2 separate regions of the Homo sapiens genome follow, and region 1 is linked to region 2. Evidence: promoter capture Hi-C in 16 types of primary human blood cells and fetal thymus (Javierre and others, 2016). All regions are on one chromosome and are shown on one strand. Each heading gives the region's core, a stretch centred on a gene start or on the middle of the fragment in contact. The rest is flanking DNA. Distances are from core to core; before and after follow the strand shown.

Region 1 (6,362 bases), core at 3,149-5,648, 410 kb after region 2:
ATATAATTATAAAATATGTTTGGAAATATCAAATACGAGCTTTGGCTAGCCTTATTTTTGGTATCCACAAGTATAGTGTGTAGTACATAATGCTTAATAAGTGGTTAATTGAATTGTTGAAATAAATATAATTCTTATATTCCTGGTTTAAATCTTTTTATATATTGTTAATTATACTTAAAAGTAAAAGATTACTACTTTTAGTATTTAGTGAACATAAATTTTGATAAGTAAACATACTTATTATGCTTCTGCTTTTCTGTTCATTTCATATGTTGGTGATTTATATTATATATGCATTTCCTTAATCTGATCTCCAAAATCGTACATATTTAACCATAATTTCCCATCATTTACCTCTAACACATCTATACTGAAATAAAAATTGCAACAATGTTTTACAGTGTGATTCTCCAAATAATGAGCACTCTTGGAATAATGAAAGTGAATCTGCCATGTTAAATGCTATGCATAATTTAACATGGCTTAGAAAAATTTGTATGGCTTTTAGAATTTGTTGCTCTCCTTCACAACAATTTTGTGTATATATTTCCTCATACTACTTCATCCACAGTCCTTCCTCAAATGCTTCCATTTAAACTTAAATTTTAAAAGTTCCCCTTTTACTCATTTCACAGTTGTCGTAGACACTATCATTCTTTGCTCAACAAAGTAAGTCATGTTTTCAAAAACTAAAAAAAAAAAAATTCTTTTTTTTCTGATATTGTGCTACTTCCATCTTCTCTCCTTACAGGAAACAAAATTTTTTCCCAAATACATTTTCATACACATTCTTCTTATTTGAAAGAGCTGCCTTCCTCTATTATTTTATTCTCATGAGTAAAGAGGTATGAAAAATATTTCTTGCTCCCCTGGGTCACTTCTAAACCATCATCACTCTTTCCCTTCAGAAGTTGGACTTGTAATTCAAAAAAAAAAAAAAAAAAACTGGCTAGTTAGGTTCAAGAAGATGATGGGAAAAACACTATGAAGAAAAAAAAGATACTATAATTGAAAACCAACTCAGGTGATGAATCAGCAGGAGTTGCTCATCCTTAGAGCTGCCTGGGCTCCTGTTGGCTTTCTAGGTCTTGTGTATCATGAAAGATAACTCCATTATCTAAAACAGTCTCCCTTTCCTGCAACTAAAAGGGCCTGTTAACACGGCCCTTCATTCACTAAGGACTATGGCACCTGGCTCATAGACCTTTCCACCCCAACTGCTACCAGAAAGTAGCATTGCATAGTAGTTAAAGACAGGAGCTCTGAAGGCAGACTGCATGAGATGTAACACAATTCTGTGGTGTCCTAATTAGGGAAAAGGAGTCAGGCTGGTGGGAGCAGGGGAAAGCAAAAAGAAAAAGCAGATAAGCTACAAGGACACATAGCCCTCCTGTGCAAATAACTCTCAATCTTCCTATGCCCAACTATCACCAGACACCTGCAAGTTAGCTCACTGCAACCTTGGCATTATCAGTACTGCACAAAGCCCTCTTCAGCATACAGCATAAACACTATCCTATAAAATCTCCAGCAAGCCTTTGTTTCTTTGCAGTCAGCTTCCCTTCCGCTGATCCTGCCCATTGTCTCCCTGGCAACGTATTTTCCTCCCTTCTCTAACAAATTTGCCTTTCTTTTACCTACAACGGTAAACCCTTTTGTCCCTGCACCTCGGGCCTAGATAGCCACCGCTCCCCCATGACAAACTCTAATATGGATCAGGTATGTAAATGTCTCTGCTTCACCTTCCTCAACCATAAGACGAAAATAATAGTACTGACTTCTAGGGTTGTTGTAAGGTCTAAATGTGTTAATACGTGTAACATGCTTAGAAAAGTGCTCGACACAAAGTAAGTACCCAATAAATATTAACTATGAGTAATATTATCAGTATTGACAGCACCTTCAAAATCTATATAGTTGACTCATCCAACAACTTAGATTCAACAACTTAGAGCTCCTCAAATGCGTCAAACATCATTCGCCCTCTACTTCCTCTACCGACTTTCATAGCCACACCCTGCACTTGAGGGCTTTATACCTTTCATGTTGTGTTGATAGCAAGGGTTTTCCAAATAGATTAACCTCCCTGAATTTTGATTGCCCACTATTTCCCAAATCCCTTCAAGGCATTCTCTGTATGCTACACAATACACTAAGTATATATAAAGAAAGGAGTATATTACTCCATTCTTTATATAGGTAAAGCCTAAACTCCTTTTCTTGGAATATAGGCTCTCCAGATCTGAAGTCTGCCTAATTATTTACACTTTTGCTTTCACATACCCTTTGAACTTTCTCACATTGTCTTCGTGTTTGCATGTGCTGCTCCAGCTTCTAAGCATGCCCTCCCTGTCCTCATACCCCATTCCCCAGCCACTTATTACGCTATATGCTGTAGTCCCATTCAGCTCGGTTGCAACCTCTTCCCTAATGAATCAGTCCATCATTAACAAAGAAAGGGAGGGAGGGAGGGAGGAAGAGAGGAATGAAAGGAGGAAAAGGGAAGGAAGGGGAAGGGAAGGGGAAGGGAAGGGGAAGGGAAGGGAAGGGAAGGAAGGGGAAGGGAAGGAATGGGAGGAAAAGGGACAAATAATGAATGATATGCTCTAATCTTTTTCCCCTAGATATAGAAGACAAAGAGCAAAATATACTTCACTAAAATTGGATTTTTACATAAATGTTCTTTCCTTTGTTTTTTGGTTGCTGGTCCACTTACAAACACTTTTCATATTTGTATGTCTTTCCAATGGTTATCCTGTTTTGTTCATTTCAGGCATATGGCCCTGATCAGATTAACTGACATGATGTATATGCAAAGCCTTTTGAGTTCTTCAGAAAAATAAATTATCTTATTCAAGACTGATTGCTTATAAGGAACTTATTATAGCTAATATAGTAGGCACAATTTTTTTTTTGTAATTCTCCTAGATGAGTCAGAACTTAGTTTTGACGTAGGTAAAAATTTTATGGTCACAAATCTCAGGTGTGAGAAAATCTCTTTCCTTGATACTCTATATAAATAGAGGATATAAATATTTCAAGTCTGGAAGTAGTGAGAGAAGCTGGTAATTCTGGACATATAGTGACAGTCAAAAAGGAGCTCAGGTACAGGACTGGTCTAAGCTGCTCAAGATTCAGGAGACAGCCAGTACACAGAGAAGCTGAGGAGATACATAAGATATATCTAAAACATTTATCTAACCTTCTGTGGTAACAAGCTCCTTAAAGGGGCTGGATGATGTTGTGTTCACTTTTTATCACCAGCAAAGGCTAAGATAATGTATATAGTAAATATTTAGTAACTATTTATTAAATAAATAAATATTTAAGACAGAATAAACAAGTATAATAAATGAACCAATAAGAATGCACCATCTAAGTCAAAATAGCCACTTTTATCCTTAACATTGTACCTGCTTTGGCTGCTGCAGAAGCAAACTTGTTGGCATTAGACAAATCAAGCTGGTGATTTAATAAATTCCAATGTAAGTCTTACCAGTATTGATGAATAACTATCCAGCACTCACCATGAAAGTTAAAGAAACAACACAGAAAAAGTTCCTAAGTGGTCCCAATTTGAAATGATCAGATAACCTATAAAAGAACATATTCATATTATACTAACATAAACACATATAAATGCACTTACAGCAGTTACACAGTATTCTCTTCAATAACTAGTTTCCTTATGCATTAATGTGTAATAACAGCAACTACAATATTTAGATAATTATAAAAACCAAGGCAATAATTTAAAAACTGATTAACCGTTTTACTCTAACTTAAGCATGGATTGGATCAGTAAGATTGATTAATAAATTTGAATGCAGTCAGTTGGATTGATTCTAATTTAAAGTTTTAATTTGTTGTAGAATAATTTTAAGTGAATATATTTGTCCAGTGTTCGAGTGCTCAACAGTGTGTTTGAAAAGGAAAACAAAGAAATGTTTTTGAGAAATGTGTTAATTCCTTAAGACAATGGATTTTAATTGGATCTAGTTGTTTTCATTTTTCTTCATTATCATTATACATCTGTATGTTGGACAGAACACTAACACTAAATAGTTTTTAGAAAAATTTTTTAAAGTTATTTAAATCATAATATCATGACTGACTTTTAAATTCAAAATTAGGCTGTGACTATCCTTCTTCACTTAGGAAGAGTGTTGTGAAAGCCAGACCATCTGCTGAGGTGCTACAGTTACATGTGGCCCTCAGAATGCATTTGGCCTGCTCTGTTTTAGCACTCTGTTGGATTACCAATACACAAAACAAGTTAACCTTGATCTTTCACATTAAGTATCTCAGGGACAAAATTTGACATACGTCTAAACCTGTGACGTTTCCATCTAAAGAAGGCAGAAATAAAACAGGACTTTAGATTCGGTTACAATAAAATATCAGATGCACCAGAGACACAAGGCTTGAAGCTCTGTCCTGGGAAAATATGGCAAACAGTGCCTCTCCTGAACAGAATCAAAATCACTGTTCAGCCATCAACAACAGCATCCCACTGATGCAGGGCAACCTCCCCACTCTGACCTTGTCTGGAAAGATCCGAGTGACGGTTACTTTCTTCCTTTTTCTGCTCTCTGCGACCTTTAATGCTTCTTTCTTGTTGAAACTTCAGAAGTGGACACAGAAGAAAGAGAAAGGGAAAAAGCTCTCAAGAATGAAGCTGCTCTTAAAACATCTGACCTTAGCCAACCTGTTGGAGACTCTGATTGTCATGCCACTGGATGGGATGTGGAACATTACAGTCCAATGGTATGCTGGAGAGTTACTCTGCAAAGTTCTCAGTTATCTAAAGCTTTTCTCCATGTATGCCCCAGCCTTCATGATGGTGGTGATCAGCCTGGACCGCTCCCTGGCTATCACGAGGCCCCTAGCTTTGAAAAGCAACAGCAAAGTCGGACAGTCCATGGTTGGCCTGGCCTGGATCCTCAGTAGTGTCTTTGCAGGACCACAGGTAAGCCATTATACACAAACTTATTTGGATATGGTGATCATAGATTTCCTATCTAAATTTGATATAAGGTCTTATCAAAGGAAGTACTGTATTACCTTTAAGAGCTTGGGTTCTGGAAGTCAGAGAGTGAAGTTTAATTCTGGCTCTGTTCTGTTACCTTGGGCAAACTTCTTAACCTCTCTGGTTTCAGTTCCTTTACCGATAAAATGTAACATGGGGGTTAATGCTTACTTAATACTGCTTTTGTGATGAATAAATAAATAAAGTAGCTCACATAATCTCTATTATGTAGCAAATGCTTCCCCAAAAAAAATGCGATTCTCAAACTTGACCTTATCTCCATCCTATTCTTTTATCTGTTTTTCTTTTTGTTTTGGTTGACATGGCTTTAATGTTTAGTTGAGATAATTTTTAGGAATTATGAAATTTGCCTAGGTAGAAAATATTTATAATGTTTCTTATTTAGGGTTTCTTCAGTGGAAATTTTAAGAATTCTGTCACTGCAGCTTAGAGAGAATTATTCTTTGTTAGTATGTTGCTCTGCAGTTTGCAGCTAAGTGGGACTGAATATAGAAGAAAAGTAAGACATCTTGGATGTTTGGAAATCCAAATATTTCCCTAAAGTTAGCTTGAGTTTTGCTGGAGGCAGCTTATTGAGAAAGCCATATGACTGACAGAGTAGGCACAGGCCCTCCCCACAGAGGGCAATTATCTTTCCAGGTTGCCTTCACCAGAAGCAGCCTAGTTAACTGACCTGCTGAACCTGCCATTTTAACAATCAGATCCCCGAAGAAAAGGACAAATTCTTGAAAATAACAAAGAATGTTAATAGCAGATGAACAAGTTTTCTCTTGCATTTAAATGTACTACATGATAAACCCAGGATACAAGGATGTGTCAAGAAATAAATCAGAATTAACTAGGATCCTCCAAAACTTGCCTCTGAAAATGGAAATTTATCTAGACTTTTTTTTACTGACCAGATGGTTAAAAAACAACAACAACAAAAAAAAACTGCCATGCAGAACTCACTATATAGCACAAGACACTAGAAAGCTGGATAACTGTTTTATCCCATCAATTTCTCACTTTAATATTTCTTTTGAATATGTGTGTGTTTCATAATAAGAATAATGGGAAAAACTAAAATGTTTTCATTTTCTGAAGAAAAATATATGATTTATTTCACAGTGATGCAATACATAAGAATAAGTTTAGCAAATATATCACCTGAAATGAGGTGATTTAGCTAAGGCTTATGCTCTTAAAATTTTCCACATTCTTTCTTTCCACTTTTGCACCTATGGTCCAAGTTACCTGGGAGGTTGGGAGGGAGGTTGTGGTGGGAGGATCACTTGAGCCCAGGAGTTCGAGACCAGACTGGGCAATA
Region 2 (7,270 bases), core at 714-3,213:
TATAGTCTCCAGGTCTTTTTCATTCTCCAGTCCCTTATTCTGTTTCAGTTTCCTTCACAGCACCAAACGCAACCTGGCATTGTATTATGTATCTACTTGTTTACTACCTATCTCTTCTCTTTGAATATAAATGACCATGAAGGCAAGGACTTTGTTATATCACCACCGTCACTCCAGCATCTAGAACACTGCCTACACATGGTGCACCTTCAGTAAATATTTGCTAAATAAATAAACAGATTCACAAAATAGTAGTTTCAAATGCGTACTACAAGGCCAACTAATTAATGTTATATGCAGCCCTTTTCATCTTCTCAGTAAAAATTCAAATTAAAGTAGCATCAGAAGACTCTTTTCTCCTTCTTTATAGTCATCATTGAGTCTTTGCCCGAAATAATAACTTCTTATTAATAAATGAGTTGCCATAGAAATTGGCCCTATTACTATGAGATACCTAAGAGGGAAATGAAAATCTTTTTTCTAAAGGGCTGCAACTTAAACACGTTAAAGAACATTGCTTTTGAGATACAAGTACAAGACATAAATATTCATTTCGTTGCTCAAATGGTAAGACATTAGTCAAAGCTTCCCGTAACCCCAATCAAGTTAAACCTCTAATGTATTATTTTAAATTAGGTAGTGCATGTTGCCACTTGGATGCCCACTCATCCACTACCAACACATGTTGAACTCATACAACCTCAACCTCCACAAAAGAACACGTCATGAGATTACTTAATGTGTAATCGAAACAAAATCTGTTTCATATGTTAATTAGGTCAACAAAAGATATATTTAACATTCGATAAGACATTAGTGTGATCTAAAGTATTCACTGTACAGTGTTCTGTCTGGACATCTCTATTTTTACTGTCAATGTTACATTATCATGTTTATTGGGTTCCTTGCCCTTTATTCCGACATCTGCAGAACCAAATCGGTTAGATTGCCACTGATTGTAGGGCAAATGTTCATGGCCCCCAAATTAGATAGAGTTGTTTTCACTTCATTCTCTTCCCTTGAGAGAGTAGAAATAGTGGTCCTGTTGTGTTCTTTTCTTTCCCCAAATCTGGCTGCAGTTCTTTAAACACAATACATTAGCACGTTTGCTCTGGATATTTGGTGAAGAATGCATACTATGCATCAATATAAATCTCAATAGTGTGCAAGCAAACAATTACCTATAGGATAACCTGCTTATATATTCTGCTATTGCTACATCAGAATTATTTCTGACATGTCTGTCTCTAAAATTTCCTAAGCGTCACCTCTTGCAATCAAGATATTTTCAGTGCTAGAGATTTGAATAGTTGCATGTGTAACTCCCTTCCACCCACTATGCCATCTGTTACCTACGAAGTATAGCAGTTGGAGTCAGGAAATTTGGCACAGTTCTCCAAGTGGGGCAACCTCCTCTACCTTCTTGGAGCCTAGTAAATAAGGTTCTCTTTTCTGTTCCTCTTTCGTCTCTCAATCAAATAACTGTAAATAAACCCCTAAATGGTTTGATTAGCTATTGAATAATGGTAGTGATCATAGGATGGCAAACTGTTTTTAGTGTGGATTTTTTTAGAAAATAGAGCCCAAGGCAATTCTAGGGATATGCAATTCTAGGGAAGAAGGACTGAGGGAAAGGGATCAATAGAGAAAGAAGGGATGAGGATGGAAAGCAAATGTAAGGGGTACGTTACCAATTGGGCTAGAGTTTTATATCAAGCTAGTGGGATATCTTTGGAGAGTCTATATGAGCCACTGTGTTTCTGAATGATTTGTCTAGGGAGAGGAAGGGAGAAGAATTCACCTTCTTGTATCTGCCATTGGAAAAAAATTCCTCCCATGACACATCGACTGTGACACAGTTTTAGGTTGTACCACCTGGCCCTCTAGCAGCTATGAGGAGGCTAGATCACAAAACAGCAGTGACAACATCCACAGTGGCAGCCACACTGCATGGAGTAAGCTAGTGAGTGGAAGCAAGTCAGTGACACTTGCCACTGTCCATGTATAATTTGCAACCTCACAAACACAACTGGGCAAATCAGTGCACCTCCACAGTGTCTCAGAGGTGATGGAAAAACTCCACGTGGGAAGCAAGAAATGCAGAGTAAAGAGTGAGGGAATATGCTGTCAGATTTTGTTTGAGAACCCCCGGAGGGACTGGGAACAGGCACCTCAATGGAACTGGCTGGCCAAGCAGGTGTAGTACCATGAAAACATGACCCCAACATGAAAGCATCAACAAACTTTGCTCCAACAAAGTCTGAAAGCCCTTTTCTATGGTATACCCTAATGTGGTAGATGCCGGACAGTCTTCTGAAGTATCATCAGGAGGATTCTAGAGAAAACTACAATCTAGAATCCAAGTAATTCCAAAACTAGGTTTAGCCAGTAACCCAACAGAGCTGAAAGAGTGAGATCATGATAACAGATTGTAGTTGTAAAGAAGAACTATTTCTGGAAATTGAGCTTGTAAAAGATGCATGAGAATGAGTCATTCTTAATTCTGACCTGTTTAAAATAAGTTCTTTAGAGATATCCAACCATTTTACAGTATTCACCAAAATAAGGAAATTTTGACAAAGCTAGTAAATAGTACCTGCCTGCACTATGATAAATAAGAGGCACTGTGAGGTAATGAAAACTACTTGGAAGTAATAAAAACTGGGTTTCAATCTCAATCCTGTTACTCATGTTGTGATCCTGTGACCTGAGAAGTTTATTCAAGCTCCCTGATCTCAGTTTGCTCTCCAGTTTAATGGGAATAAAGTGCGTACTTCACAGCATTTGTAAAAATTAAGGAAATGTATTAAAAAGTGTCCAGTGCAATAATTGGAAATCAGCAAATTTAAATCAGAAACTACTCTTAAATCCTACTTCTTCACTCATTTTTCTCAGATATTTAATTTCACATGCAAATATGTATGCAGATCTCTTCCATCAGCTATGTAACACCAGTTAGGTATAAAGTGATTTTGTATGAAGTAGTTGAAAATTGAACTGAGGTGTTAAATACATTCTATGAAGAATAATTCTTGAGAATCAGTAACTGGGTACTAACTGTAGCTCACTAATAATACGTAGCATTTATTAAGCAGTTTCCTATGTGGTGGTGAGGTAAGTATAACATTGATGATCTTATTTATCTATTTATTATTATATTAAAGGGACAGGTTCTTTTTATGTTGCCCAGGCAAGACTTCAACTCCTGGGCTCAAGAATCGTATCATCTCAGCCTCCCAAGAAGCTGGGACTATAGGCATACATCTCTGCAACTGACTGGGGGCTAAATAATAATTTTCAGGTAGTAGTGAAAAATGAAAATGCAATGCTCCTTAAGCTTTTAATTTTAAAAAGCTATTATATTATAAAACATAATAGGGATGAAAATGGTATGTGGGTAACAATATAAACTAATAAATTACAAAAATACAATTTTTGGTGTTCTAATTTTAGGTCATAAAAGAAATAATACTTTATAATGTGTAATCTTGATTTCTCATAAATTTTTTTCCTGCTTTTCTGGAAACTCATTTGTTAGTTTATCAAAATTTATACTTTTTAAACTTCAGTTGATATAATTGAAATTAATGCCAGTTGCTCTTGGTAAGATCAGTTTGTTTTTTACTTTTTATAAAGATGAACTATTCATTTTAAAACAGTTTTAGATTTACAAAAAAGTTAAGATGGTAGGGAAAGTTTCTATATATTTCACAGTTTCCCCTGTTGCTGCTATCTAAAGTGTGGTACATTTGTTACAATTAATGAAGTGATATTGGTACATTATTATTATGAAAGCCCATACTTAATTCCTATTTCCTTAGTTTTTATCCAATGGCCCCTTTCTGTGCCAGGATCCCATTTTGGATACTACATTACATTTAGCCATCATGTCTCCTTAGGATCCTTTTAGCTGTAATAGTTTCTCAGATTTTCTTTGCTTTTGATGATCTTAACGGTTTTGAGAAGTACTTGTCAAGTATTTTATAGAACGCTCCTCAATTAGGATTTCTCTGATGTTAGTCCCATAATTAGATTTGGAGTTACGGGTTTTTGGGAGAAGATCACAGAGGTAAAGTGCCATTTTAATCATATTGTGTCGGTGGTTTATACTGTCAGTATAACTTATCTCTGTTGATATTACTTTGATCATCTAGCTTAGGTAGTGTTTTTCAGGATTCTCCACCGTAAAGTTACATTTCCCCACTTTCCATTTGTACTGTTTGGAAGGAAATCACTGTTTAGAGATGACACGTAAGGAGTGGGGAGTTATGACCCACCTCATTGAGGGTGGAATATCTACATACATTATTTGGAATTTTTCTGCATGGGATATTTGTCTCTTCTCTCTCATTTATTTATTTAATCATATACTTATACCACTGTGGACTCTTGGATACTTATTTTATACTTTAGATTAAAATCCAATACTAGTTTACTAATTTTATTGTTCAAATTGTTCCAGATTTGACCATGGTAACAATCTGTGTCTCTATTAAGCTGAGTTTGTACTGATGAGTATGATGATTTCAAGTCTAATACATTGATTACAGAAAGCTTGATTACTTTTTCAAAATGTATTTTATTTTGTTGTTGTTGTGTGTGTTCCAATTCCATTATTTTATTTTACTGTTTAACTTTTAGTTTCAGGGATACACGTGCAAGTTTCTTTCCTTTTTTTTTTTTTTTTTTTGAGATGAAGTCTCGCTCTGTCACCCAGGCTGGAGTGCAATGGCATGATCTCGGCTCACTGCAACCTCTGCCTTCCAGATTTAAGCTATTCCCCCTGCCTCAGCCTCCTGAGTAGCTGGGACTACAGGTGCACACCACCATGCCCGGCTAATTTTTGTGTTTTTAGTAGAGACAGGGTTTCACCATGTTGGCCAGGATGGTCTTGATCTCCTGACCTTGTGATCCATCCGCCTTGGCCTTCCAAAGTGCTGGGATTACAGGTATGAGCCACTGCACTGGGCAGCAAGTTTCTTATATAAGTAAAGTGCATGTCGTGGGGGTTTGGTGTACAGATTATTTCCTAACCTAGATGATAAGCATACTACCTGATAGGTAGTTTTTTTGATCCTCCCCTTCCTCCCACCCTGCACCCTCAAGTAGGCCCCAGTGTCTGTTGTTCCTTTCTTTGTGTCCATGTGTACTCAATATTTAGCTCCCATTTACAAGTGAGAACATATGGTATTTGGTTTTCTGTACCTGCGTTAGTTTGCTTAGGATAATGGCCTCCAGCTGCATCCATGTTGCTGCAAAAGACATGATCTAGTTCTTTTTTACAGCTGTATAGTATTCCATGGTGTATATGTACCACATTTTCTGTATCCAGTCTACCATTGATGGGCATCTACACTGAATTCATGTCTTTGCTATTGTGAATAGTGCTGTGATGAACATGCAAGTAAATGTTTCTTTCTGGTAGAAGGATTCATATTCTTTGGGGTATATACCCAATACTGGGATTGTGGGGTTGAATGGTAATTTTAAGTTCTTTGAAAAATCACAAAACTGCTTTCCACAATGACTGAACTAACTTACATTCCCACTAGCAGTGTATAAATGTTTCCTTTTTCTGCAACCTTGCCAACATTGTTATTTTTTGACTTTAAAGAAAGCCATTCTGATTGATATGAGCTGTTATCCCATTGTGGTTTTGATTTGCATTTCTCTAATGATTAGTGATGTTGAGTGTTTTTTCATATGCCTGCTGGTCACGTGTATGTCTTTTGAAAAGTGTTCATGTACTTTGCCCACTTTTTAATGGTGTTGCTTGTAAATTTAAGTTCCTTATGATTCTGGATATAAGACCTTTTTCAGATGCATAGATGGCAAATATTTTACCCTATTCTGTGGGTTGTCTGTTTACTCTATTGGTAGCTTCTTTTGCTGTGCAGAAACTCTTTAGTTTAATTAAGTCCAATTTGTCAATTTTTGTTATTGTTGCAGTTGCTTTTGGCATCTTTGTCATGAAATATTTGCCAGGGCCTATGTCCAGAATGGTATTTCCTAGGTTTTCTTTCAAGGATTTTCATAGTTTCAGGTTTTACATTTAAGTCTTTAATCCGTCTCAACTAAATTTGTGTATATGGTGTAAGAAAAGGGTCCAGTTTCAATCTTCTGGATATGACTAGCCAGTTATCCCAGCACCATTTATTGAATAGCAGGTCTTTTCCTTATTGCTTGTTTTTGTTGACTTTGGTGATTATCAGATGGTTGCAGGTGTGCCACTTTATTTCAGGGCTCTGCATTCTGTTCCATTGGTCTATGTGTCTGTTTTTGTACCAGTACCCTGCTGTTTTGGTTACTGTTGCCTTGTAGTAGGTCCTGTTTCCTCAGATTCCTTGGATTAGGTTTTCATTTTCTCCTGAATCTTAATGATCTTCATTACTATCCATATTCTGAGTCATATGTCTGAGATTTTAGCCATTTCAGCCTGGTTAAGAAAAATTGCTGGGGAACTAGTGCAGTCATTTGGAGACAAGAGGATACTCTGGCTTTTTGAGTTGCTAGCATTCTTGTGCTGGTTCTTTCTCATCTGTGTGGGGTGATGTTCCATCAGTCTTTGAAGTTGATTTCCTTTTTGCTTTTATCTTCTTTTATGCCCTTGGGGTTTTGATTATGGTATAAGGTGGGTTCTATAGACTGGCTTTGATTCCTGGAAGATTTTAGGGTGCCAGGTGCTCGACTCAGCACTCCTGGGCTGCATATTCTAACTCTGGGGCTCTGGTACCCAGCCCCTGGCTTTGTTCTCTGGCTCCTCAATATTTGGAACCTGCTGTGCTGGAGGGGCTGAGACATTCCTTGGCGGCTGACCACAATAATCTGATGGGAGGCGCTGGCCAAAGTGCTTCTTATGGCAGTGGGAGTGGAATCCATGCTCGCTCATGTGTGCCAGTAGCCACAGTATCATAGCAGGGTGCATGTGCATTAGCTGGAATAGGGTGCTGGAGGCAGGTAGCCTTTGCCTTAGTTTTCACAGGTTCTGGCAGTATATTTTGATGGTGTATTTTGGGCTGTGATCCAATAGGTAGCACTTGAGAGTGTTAGCCAGCACATAGATGGCTAACACTTCCAAGTGCCACCTACTGGATAAGTCTTTTGTATTTTGCTCAGTTGGCAGCAGTGTTCTGTGATGAGGGGCTGAGATAAGACCTCCTCACCTAATTCACCCCTGGGTCAAAATTTAAATACAACTTTTATGACAACTAATACTGGAACTGTTAAGTGTGTTTTATAGAATCTGACAAGATTGGGATAAATTAATGAT

Evidence for each region. Contacts are between HindIII fragments. The CHiCAGO score rates a contact against its expected background, and 5 or more counts as called.
Region 1: the fragment with the promoter of GNRHR here is called in contact with a fragment that was not itself captured in region 2 in 7 of 17 cell types (M0 macrophages, neutrophils, erythroblasts and 4 more); the score reaches 8.9 in M0 macrophages.

What each region holds. Positions count from the first base shown.
Region 1 is chr4:67,752,424-67,758,785 of GRCh38, reverse strand. It overlaps GNRHR (gonadotropin releasing hormone receptor), which reads left to right and starts at 4,398. Exons shown (of 3, transcript NM_000406.3): 1 at 4,398-4,972. The coding sequence starts at 4,451. The HindIII fragment of the contact is 5,914 bases long and covers 1-4,815 here.
Region 2 is chr4:68,161,992-68,169,261 of GRCh38, reverse strand. No RefSeq gene overlaps it. Among named protein-coding and RNA genes, the nearest start is that of TMPRSS11F, 36 kb to the right of the region's middle. The HindIII fragment of the contact is 2,752 bases long and covers 588-3,339 here.